Regions from separate parts of the Homo sapiens genome. Here region 1 is linked to region 2. The links are contacts of gene promoters, found by promoter capture Hi-C in blood cells and fetal thymus (Javierre and others, 2016). All regions are on one chromosome and are shown on one strand. Each heading gives the region's core, a stretch centred on a gene start or on the middle of the fragment in contact. The rest is flanking DNA. Distances are from core to core; before and after follow the strand shown. Region 1 has its middle 3.3 kb from the start of ENPP4. Region 2 holds the start of CYP39A1 (cytochrome P450 family 39 subfamily A member 1).

Region 1 (5,026 bases), core at 268-2,767, 530 kb after region 2:
TATCTGTAGTGCCAAACAGAACTTGGTATAGAAGTACTTGCTAAATCACTATTGAATTTAATTGTCCCGCTTGTTAAAATGCAGGCTCCAGAAGGTATTTTCTTTCTTGTTCACTACTGTATCTCCAGCTCAAATAAAAAGTACAAATAAATTAAGAATATTAATCACATGTGATATCCTCAAGTGTTAAGTATTTAATAGCTGTAAATCCAGTACCTGGATTAGTAAACTGCAGTACTGGACCTTAGATAACAAATTCTGACGTTGGTCCCCTTGGTCTGAACCTTACAGTATAGCTATTACCAACAATCTGGAAGCAGCCATGGAGATGATTTGGCAATAGATGTATTCCGTTGATTATTAGTTTGTGCCTTGATAAATTAATTCCAGTTTTAAGTCTCAGGTTGGCCTGTGCATTGGTGAATATGGGCATCTTAGATCCATGGGCTTTCAGAGCTGGAGGGGATGGTAGTGGGTCTGTAGCTGAATCCCTAGAACCTGCAGACCCTAGAACCTGGTTTGAATACTCACTCTGTCACTCACCAGCAGAGCAATCATGGGCCAGTGTCTCAACCTATTTGAGCTTTCATTTCCTCATCTGCAAAACGCGTCTTGTTACAATACCAACCTCTTACTATCAAATGAATGAGGAAAGCGAGTAGAGTATTCAGCACAGTATCTGACACATGTTGTTTTGGGGATTATTATCATTATGACCAAAAAAGTACCCCAATTTGAACAATAGTCAGGGTAAGGCCAAGTTTTGGGGGAATTTAGGTAATGTCCAATGACATAACATTTAAGATTAGCAGAACTTAAATTTTGTGGCATTTGGGGGTATTGTGCATATCCTGTTTGTTCATTCAGTAGGTGCATATGTATGCTTAAAGGGTGGACAAAACTGAATGCCATCTAGGTCAGATGTGTGGTGAAGATAGCAGCTGGATGGGCATCAGGAGAGGACTCTCTTTATCCACTGCTACTGCCTGTGTGGCTGGGTTAAATTAGGGAGTCTCATGCCACCTGGGCTCTTGCTCTGTAAGATAAAGTGGTCAGGAACAGAGGGACAAAATGACACATAAGGACCTTTGGCCCTAAACTTTTGTTATCCTCTATATATTTACCATTTCAACCACAACCAAAATCCTGTTATAGTAAGGATATTTATCGTCTTGTGGAACAAGAAGTCCAGAGGTAAGGCAGACTTCAGGACTGGTTGAGTTAGCAACTCAACGATTTCATAATGTACTCAGTTCTTTGCAGCTTTACACTTGGCTTTTAACAGAGTAGACTTCTGGTTCCTTTAGTGGTAAATATAACTACCAGCAGCAACAGGAACCATGTAATTCATTTTTCACTTCCACTGGGTGATAGAAATGACGTCTAGATTTCTTCTGTCTCTTAGAAGTCTTCAGCAACTGTCTCCTTTAATCACTTTGGACAGAATTGTGTCACATATCCAAATCTAAGCCAGCAAAGGATATGGTTACCTGTAGACCAATGCAGTCCACATCTTAAACTGAGGTCTCACCCAAACTTTACTTTTTTTCTCAATGGAAATGAGTTGGAATGGGTGCTGGGAAGCCGGCCACAAAGTTCACTATAGTTTCATTGTAGAACTTTAATGATAATAAAAGAAAACATAATAGTAACATAAATTTCTTATTTACAATGTGATTTTTAGGCATAAGTGTTGTTTTATTTAGGTAGGCAAAATAATATTCATTTATAATGTTCTTTCAGCTCAGCTTTTGCAAAGGGAATTTTATATAAATTTTGGAAATATAGAGAGCCTTTAAACCCATTTTATGTTAGAGATTGAAATGAATTAGAGGCAATAGTCTAAACTTATTATTTACAAATGAATATACCCCACAGAGAAATGACTGAGCAAACATACAGTTAGATAGAAGAAATATATTCTAATGTTTGATAGGAGAGTAGGGTGACTATAGTTAAATGTATTTTATATTTCAAAATAGCTAGAAGACAGGACTTGAAATGTTCCCATCACATAGAAATGATAAATACTCGAGGTAATGGATACCCTAAATACCCTGACTGGATTGTTACACGTTCAATGCATGTAACAAAATATCACATCTGCCCTATAAATGTATAGAAATATTATTTATCAATACACAAAAACTAAGTACAACTAGAGCATTTGCCTCTATGGGGCAATGTCAGATTTGGAAGCAGCATGTCAAAGGCAGTTTCTTTTTCTCCCATGAACTACGCTCAAGACTGAACATTTATTCATTAACACAAAATATTTTAAAAATCTTATCCTGTTTTCAAAATTTAAGACATAGCTCTCTATACAATTATTTCTCTTTTATACTCCTAATTGTGATGTATAACTCATTGCTGGCCAGGAGAAGGTCAGAAGTTAGAAGTTACAGGAAGAAGGTTTCAGAGCAAAAGCCACACGCTTCCCAAAGAAAAACAATTCCTGTCCACTGCTCAGTTCTAATTAAACAACAACACAACTGAAACTAAATAATTGAATGTCAAGGAGAGTATTTAAGGTTCACTTTTTAATATAAATTAGATGTTTAAGTAATACAGATTTTATCTTAAATATAACAGGGGAAAAGGACCTTATGAATCATTGCATTTTAGTGATTTTGAAAGTTCCTTTGGTGAAAACTTTTCACCTACTCCATTTTCAGTAAGATTATATTGGAATAATCTCAATCAAGTTAAGATTGTAAAATATTTTTAAGTGCTCCTTTAAAAAATGATTCTGTATTAACCACCATGAACTATTGTGTTAGACCTTCACTCTAAAGGAATTTTTTCAAATATTTAATAAAGCTGTGAAAGAATCAGTATAAATTCTTTTGAGGCTTTCCTATGTGGAGAGCAATGTGCTCAATTTTTCAAAAGATACAAAAATAAGTAAGATTAATTCCTTGCCCTCAAGGTGCCTCTAATCTAAGAAAATGAATGGAGAGGACATTACTCTCTTGCTTTTGCCTGCCCAGCATTCATTCCTCCTCCTTCTGGCAATTCCTCCAAGAGACAAACCCACCTTCATTCTTTGACTATGGGAGTCAGATGGGGCTGACTGTTAATTCCCCTCATCCACGGGGCAGACTCCTAAGGTGCCAGCTATCTTGGTTTGTCCCAAATGGAAGAGGTTCCTGGGACATGGGATTTTTAATCCTAAAATCAGAAAAGCAACAAGCAAATCGGGGTGAGTTGGTCACCCTAAGCCTGACTCAAACTTGGCCTTTTGGAGCCAATTTTACTCCATTAACCACATGAATTAGTTCAGTGATGGGGACATGCCTCAGTCCAGGCCATAAAGACTCAATTCTGAAACTTTTGTTGAAATAATTGGGAAAGAGTCCCTGTTTCAGCAACAATTGCTAAATAGGTAGAGTATAAGCTTACCTATTTGGCAATTGTTGATAATCTACCTATTTAGCAATCACTGAAGCTGCTGGTGGCCATCATTGTCACTGTAAAGGGAAAGTCTACCTGAGAAGAAAGCAAAGCCAAGAGCTGGAGTCCAACACGTGATGACATTGAGCACGTGGGTCCAAGTTAACCTGAAGCTCCATCCTTGGACTTTTCACTTTACATGACTCAGTAAATTATCTTTTTGCTTAAACTATTTTTTTAACTTTTTAAAAATATATATATATATTTTAATTATACTTTAAGTTCTAAGGTACATGTGCACAACGTGCAAGTTTGTTACATATGTATACATGTGCCATGTTGGTGTGCTACACCCATTAACTCGTCATTTACATTATGTATATCTCCTAATGCTATCCCTCCCCTCTCCTCCCACCCCACAACAGGCCCTGGTGTGTGATGTTCCCCTTCCTGGGTCCAAGTGTTCTCATTGTTCAATTCCCACCTATGAGTGAGAACATGCGGTGTTTGGTTTTTTGTCCTTGCGATAGTTTGCTGAGAATGATGGTTTCCAGCTTCATCCATGTCCCTACAAAGGACATGAACTCATTATTTTTATGGCTGCATAGTATTCTGTGGTGTATATGTGCCACATTTTCTTAATCCAGTCTATCATTGTTGGACATTTGGGTTGGATCCAAGTCTTTGCTATTGTGAGTAGTGCTGCAATAAACATATGTGTGCTTTTGTCTTTATAGCAACATGATTTATAATCCTTTGGGTATATACCTAGTTATGGGATGGCTGGGTCAAATGGTATTTCTAGTTCTAGATCCCTGAGGAATCGCCACACTGTCTTCCACAATGGTTGAACTAGTTTACAGTCCCACCAACAGTGTAAAAGTGTTCCTATTCCTCCACATCCTCTCCAGTACCTGTTGTTTCCTGACTTTTTAATGATCGCCATTCTAACTGGTGTGAGATGACATCTCATTGTGGTTTTGATTTGCACTTCTCTGATGGCCAGTGATGATGAGCATTTTTTCATGTGTCTGTTGGCTGCGTAAATGTCTTCTTTTGAGAAGTGTCTGTTCATATCCTTTGCCCACTTTCTGATGGGGTTGTTTGTTTTTTTCTTGTAAATTTGTTTGAGTTCTTTGTAGATTCTGGATATTAGCCCTTTGTCAGATGAGTAGATTGCAAAAATTTTCTCCCATTCTGTAGGTTGCCCATTCACTCTGATGGTAGTTTCTTTTGCTGTGCAGAAGTTCTTTAGTTTAATTAGATCCCATTTGTCAATTTTGGCTTTTGTTGCCGTTGCTTTTGGTGTTTCAGACATGAAGTCCTTGCCCATGCCTATGTCCTGAATGGTATTGCCTAGGTTTTCATCTAGGGTTTCAATGGTTTTAGGACTAACATTTAAGTCCACCTTGAATTAATTTTTGTGTAGGGTGTAAGGAAGGGATCCAGTTTCAGCTTTCTACATATGGCTGGCCAGTTTTCCCAGCACCATTTGTTAAATAGGGAATCCTTTCCACATTTCTTGTTTTTGTCAGGTTTGTCAAAGATCAGATAGTTTTAGATGTGTGGTATTATTTCTGAGGGCTCTGTTCTGTTCCATTGGTCTATATCTCTGTTTTGGTACCAGTGCCAT
Region 2 (4,938 bases), core at 1,418-3,917:
AGAAATTTAACTTTAATATCTGTTAGTCATTAATTTTTGCTTTTCAATGGGAAATAATTTAAAGTACCATATTGTGTGCTATCCTCTTGACTGCAGCCATGATTATTTGAGATCTAATGTAACATTAGAATACTGCACTATATATTCTTATGTACTATAACAAATGCTAGATGAAGCTGAACTCTATAATTTCGTGGGTGATGTTCACATGCAGATGAATGACTGACATAATGTTTGAGATACAGAAGATGTAATGGAGTTTATAATGTTGTCTTTTATATGCAAGGGTCATAAGCTCAATATCCTTTCAATTAAAGCATATATGGAATTATTTTTCCAGCACTAAATTATATGCATCGCCTACTCATGGCCTCCTTACAAGTACTAACTGTATTTTGGAAAAATTTTTTGGTTTTAAGTTTTAAATTAGATACAGACCTTTTACCTTAATACAGTTAAGCTAAACGGCCTACATAAGGAAGATAGAGCTCATAACCTTATACAGAAAACGTCCTGAATAATTAAAATAATAACATTCAGACAAGTTCATGAACATTACTTACATTATATAAGACTTTTCAATGACCACCACCTGACACAAAACCTTAGTATACCTTTTCCAAGAGAAAACAATGTGGGGAAGGGAAGTGAATATTAAATCTTACCACTGGTTTTTGGAAAAGTTAGTATCTTGCTGACAGTTTCCCTAGAACAGAAGTAGCTTGCATAGACTTCAAGCAATATTTTATTGACATATGAAACCTGAAAAATCTTAATAGATTTCTCCATATTACACAGATTATGTCTTTCAAAATAAGTTTTGTTTTCTCGCTGGTTTGTTAAATGATGCTTCAGGTTCCTGAAGTGGTTTGTACTTAAAACCATCCCACATTTTGATTCCCATCCATTCTCCACACACAATTCTCTCCATGAATTTTTAACGAGGAATAGTCCTGTATAAAAGCCATTGAGTCAGAGGGGGACACATCAATTAAAAATAAAACCTGGAAATATCATTCAGCAATCTGCTTTTAGATCTTTTTAAGCTGATGAATTTTATTTCAGTAAAAACAATGAAAAGTAAAAATTCTCCATCATTTTCGAAAGGAGAGACATTAAAAAATAGAGGGGCTAAAAGGCAAAAATGGAAGAGCACGAAACAACTGATCATGGCTGGCTATGCTAGAATTAAAAAATAAACTCTTAAAATAGGACCAACTAACATTTACAAATGATAACGCATCAGAACTGTTCTTTTTATTTTTTTGTAACAGGCAAGAAAATGTAAGGGTAATCTTAAAATACACAGTTAAGGCTTCACAGGAAACACATGAGTATACTACTCACAAAATCCTTGGAATAAACGCTACTTGCTCATTCAAGGGCATCATCATTCCACTCTAGATGGCCTCTTAAAGTTTTTTCTTACTCATGTAGGCAGATGTAACTGCTCTTCTATGCTTTTATGACACCTAATAATATCTTCATTATAACAAGTAGCACATTATAATTGTCTTTCTCTGTCTCCCCAGCAGCCTGTAAGAAGGTCAGAACTGGGTCTTTTCAAATATATATCCACAGTCCCTGGTATTGTAGGAATTATAAAAATGTCGCAACTAATGGGTGTCCTGCCTTGGGTTTAGCAATCATATATTATTGACTTCTCAGAATCCTGCAAGGTAAACAGTATAGATGAATTACACTCAAAGAGGTCAAGTAGTCGATGCTCTGTGAGTGGCAGGTTAATAACGGAAGTCCCACAAGGTAGGTCCACAACTTGGACCCACAAGATAATGACAGTGTGGCTGTGTAAGACTATAAACCACAGAGATGATCTCAGTAAGGATGGAAAACAGATTACGTTTTTAAAAAGGTCATCCTCATGAAAAGGAAAATGATTCCTACAGAGGAATGACAGCTCGCGAAGCTTCTTAAAGTACAACATTCAAGCACCACAGCACATGCCTAAGGGAAGCATTAGAAGAGATTAGAAGGAAAAGGCCGTGGAGACCTCAATCCCTCCTCCTCCCACCGCGGGCCTGGCCTCCACCGCCACCTCTGCCAGGCGGGCATGGAAGGGGCGACCTCTCCGATGCGCACTGCCGGGCGCGAAGCCGCCCGCGCACCCTCCCCCAGCGCGGCGCGTGCCACTGGCCCGGGAGGCCCAGGCGTGGGCAGCCGGGTACCTAGCTCGGCCACGGTAGCCGCGCAGCCGGACAGTAGGAATTTGCTCGCTCGGGGCCATCTCTGGGTCAGCGGCAAAAGCCTCTCCTCCTCCTCCGGGACGGACATTCAGCAGTAGCGCAAGACGATAACGCACTCCTTCTCGCCGCTGCGCTGCACCGCGCCGCGGCGGCCGCTTCCCTGCCAGGGCGGCCCCTTTTCAACCGGCGAGTGGCCGGGTGAGGACCATTTCCCTCGTTCGGCTCGGCCGGGTGGACCCGCAACCTTCCTAGCAGTCCCAGCTGGAGTGGTCCAGCTGCCCCTTACACCCCAGAATAGAAAAACACAGCGGAGCCCAGGAGGTTACTGGGCAATGTAGTCCGCCGGGCTCCGCTACGTCTCTGATTGGCCGGCCGCGGGTCCCTCTGCGGCTCCGCCCCCGGCCTCCATGGCAACGCGGCTGGTTCTCGCCCGTCAGTCCTAGCCCGGCCCTGCCCCTCCTTGCATTTTTTCCGCGCTGGCTGAGATTCAAAGAGAAGTGGAGGTGGGAGGGAGCGACAATGGAAAAATCACCTGAAAACTGGGACAGAGGAAGGAAGCTACAGTTACGAAGGAGAGCTGCAAAAGTTGCAGCAGAAAGGTTGGGAGTCCCGACAGGTTCCGTAGCCCACAGAAAAGAAGCAAGGGACGGCAGGACTGTTTCACACTTTTCTGCTTCTGGAAGGTGCTGGACAAAAACATGGAACTAATTTCCCCAACAGTGATTATAATCCTGGGTTGCCTTGCTCTGTTCTTACTCCTTCAGCGGAAGAATTTGCGTAGACCCCCGTGCATCAAGGGCTGGATTCCTTGGATTGGAGTTGGATTTGAGTTTGGGAAAGCCCCTCTAGAATTTATAGAGAAAGCAAGAATCAAGGTATGTGGTCGTGGCAGACGGGGTCTCCAGAGGAGACAATGCTTTCTTTTTTAAACTTTCTTTCATTGACTCTTAAGTGCAGGGCTAGAACACGGGGAACATACCTGCTTGCCTCAACTAAAGGATCTAGTCATTTCTGAATTCCTCTACTAACAATTAACAACAATATCCTGTGCAAAATTTTGCGAAAGAAATGAAATACAATTGCAGCGTGCATCGACATTTTTGGAAGTAGAGATTAACTTTTCGTATTTTTACTTCATCGAAGTTAAGTTCCAAATGTGTATGTGTTAAGTAAATGTTTTCAGTAATTGGGAAAGATAAAGTGTAATCCAATTTAAGTTTGTGAAAATGAGTAATTCGTATCCAAATTGGAGTTAACACCAAAGTATTGTACAAATTGCTTGCACAGTTGGTCCGTACACAATAAACAGGCTCTGTATTTTTAGCTGACGTTGTTATTTGATGATGATGTACTCCATTTTCACTACGGCCTGAAGAGACTAGTAATCCTCCTTGTAGTAGATGTTTTTGTCTTGAAAGTATCTTTTAAATGTCTGAGCACTTTAAGGAACAGACCTTTATTAATGTCTTTTAAGTTTTATTCAATTTCCAGTCACAAATATTTTATGGTATTTGATTGTCTAATAAATTTGTATGATATTATAATTATTCTTATGAATTATAATACTTTCTGTGGTGACCCATTTTCCATCTGGTTAGCCCAATTTGTAGAATGAATTTATACGTAGTAGCATTATTTTACCACTGATCATTTGCCTTCAAAATCTCTGAGATTCCAATTTAGTAAAAAACATATAGAAAATTAAAGAGAACTAAGATGAAAATAAAAATAACCCAGAATATCACACCAGCTGTACTGTAAAAATTTAGTGTATTTATATTATTTTGGTCATTTTCCTATGTATTTACAACTATTTAATGAACAACAATGGAATAATAGTATAATACTCTTTTATGTGCTTTTGATTTTAACATATAATGTGAATGACTTTCCTGTACCATGAAATACTTTGAATCTTCCTTTTATGGCTATATTTTGTCATAGGAGGATACAATAGTTTACTTAAATCTCAATAGTTGGGTTTATAGGTTGCTGCCAAACTTTTTTCTTTCAGCCAGTGCTTCAGTGAACATTCTTGCGTGTTTGTGTGCATGTATTGATTGTGTGGTTGTACATTTTGCAATTATCTGATTGTTTACTCAGAATAAATTCCTAGGAGTAGAATTGCTGAGTCAAAGGACATGCACACTTAAATTGTTTATATGAATGTGTTACTTTTGGAAAAAGAAGTATGAATATGCAATTTTTATTTTCCATTGACTGTATGCAATTGCCTAACTTCTCAAATCCTGGGCCATACTGAATACCATAATTCTTTGCAATTTTTGCTAGTCTGATAGATGAAACATTATATCTCCTAAAGAAATACTCCTTTGTCTCCCACAGCCTTCCTTATGCATATGATCTTGATAATTTTTAAGGAACTGTTTTTTTACAAGCTTGTGTCAGAAGGCTAAATATTTGTGAGGTCTCTATTGCTTTCCTGACTAAACAAAACAAGTTATTGCTGGACTCTGTGTCTCACACCTGTAATCCCAACACTTTGGGAGGCAGGGGTGGGAGGATTGCTTGAGGCCAGGAATTTAAGACCAGCCCGGGAGATATAGCAAGACCTCATTTCTACAAAAACTAAATAGAAAAATAAAAAATTTAATCTGGTCCAGTGGCACATGCCTGTAGTCCCAGCTCCTCGAGAGGCTGAGGCGGGAGGATTGCTTGAGCTCAGGAGTTCCAGATTCCGGTAAGCTATGATTGAGCCACTGCACTCGAGCCT

Evidence for each region. The method cuts DNA at HindIII sites, captures the fragments that hold promoters and counts their contacts. A CHiCAGO score of 5 or more calls a contact.
Region 1: a fragment that was not itself captured here is called in contact with the fragment with the promoter of CYP39A1 in region 2 in 2 of 17 cell types (fetal thymus and total B cells); the score reaches 5.1 in fetal thymus.

What each region holds. Positions count from the first base shown.
Region 1 is chr6:46,124,212-46,129,237 of GRCh38, reverse strand. It overlaps a transcript of CLIC5 not described here. Among named protein-coding and RNA genes, the nearest start is that of ENPP4, 3.3 kb to the left of the region's middle. The HindIII fragment of the contact is 3,764 bases long and covers 1-3,399 here.
Region 2 is chr6:46,650,547-46,655,484 of GRCh38, reverse strand. CYP39A1 (cytochrome P450 family 39 subfamily A member 1) reads left to right here and starts at 2,667. Exons shown (of 12, transcript NM_016593.5): 1 at 2,667-3,079. The coding sequence starts at 2,903. It overlaps SLC25A27 (solute carrier family 25 member 27), which reads right to left and starts at 2,510. Exons shown (of 9, transcript NM_004277.5): 1 at 2,187-2,510. The coding sequence starts at 2,292. RefSeq lists silencers at 2,073-2,172, 2,603-2,692 and enhancers at 2,353-2,482, 2,713-2,762. The HindIII fragment of the contact is 2,676 bases long and covers 1,930-4,605 here.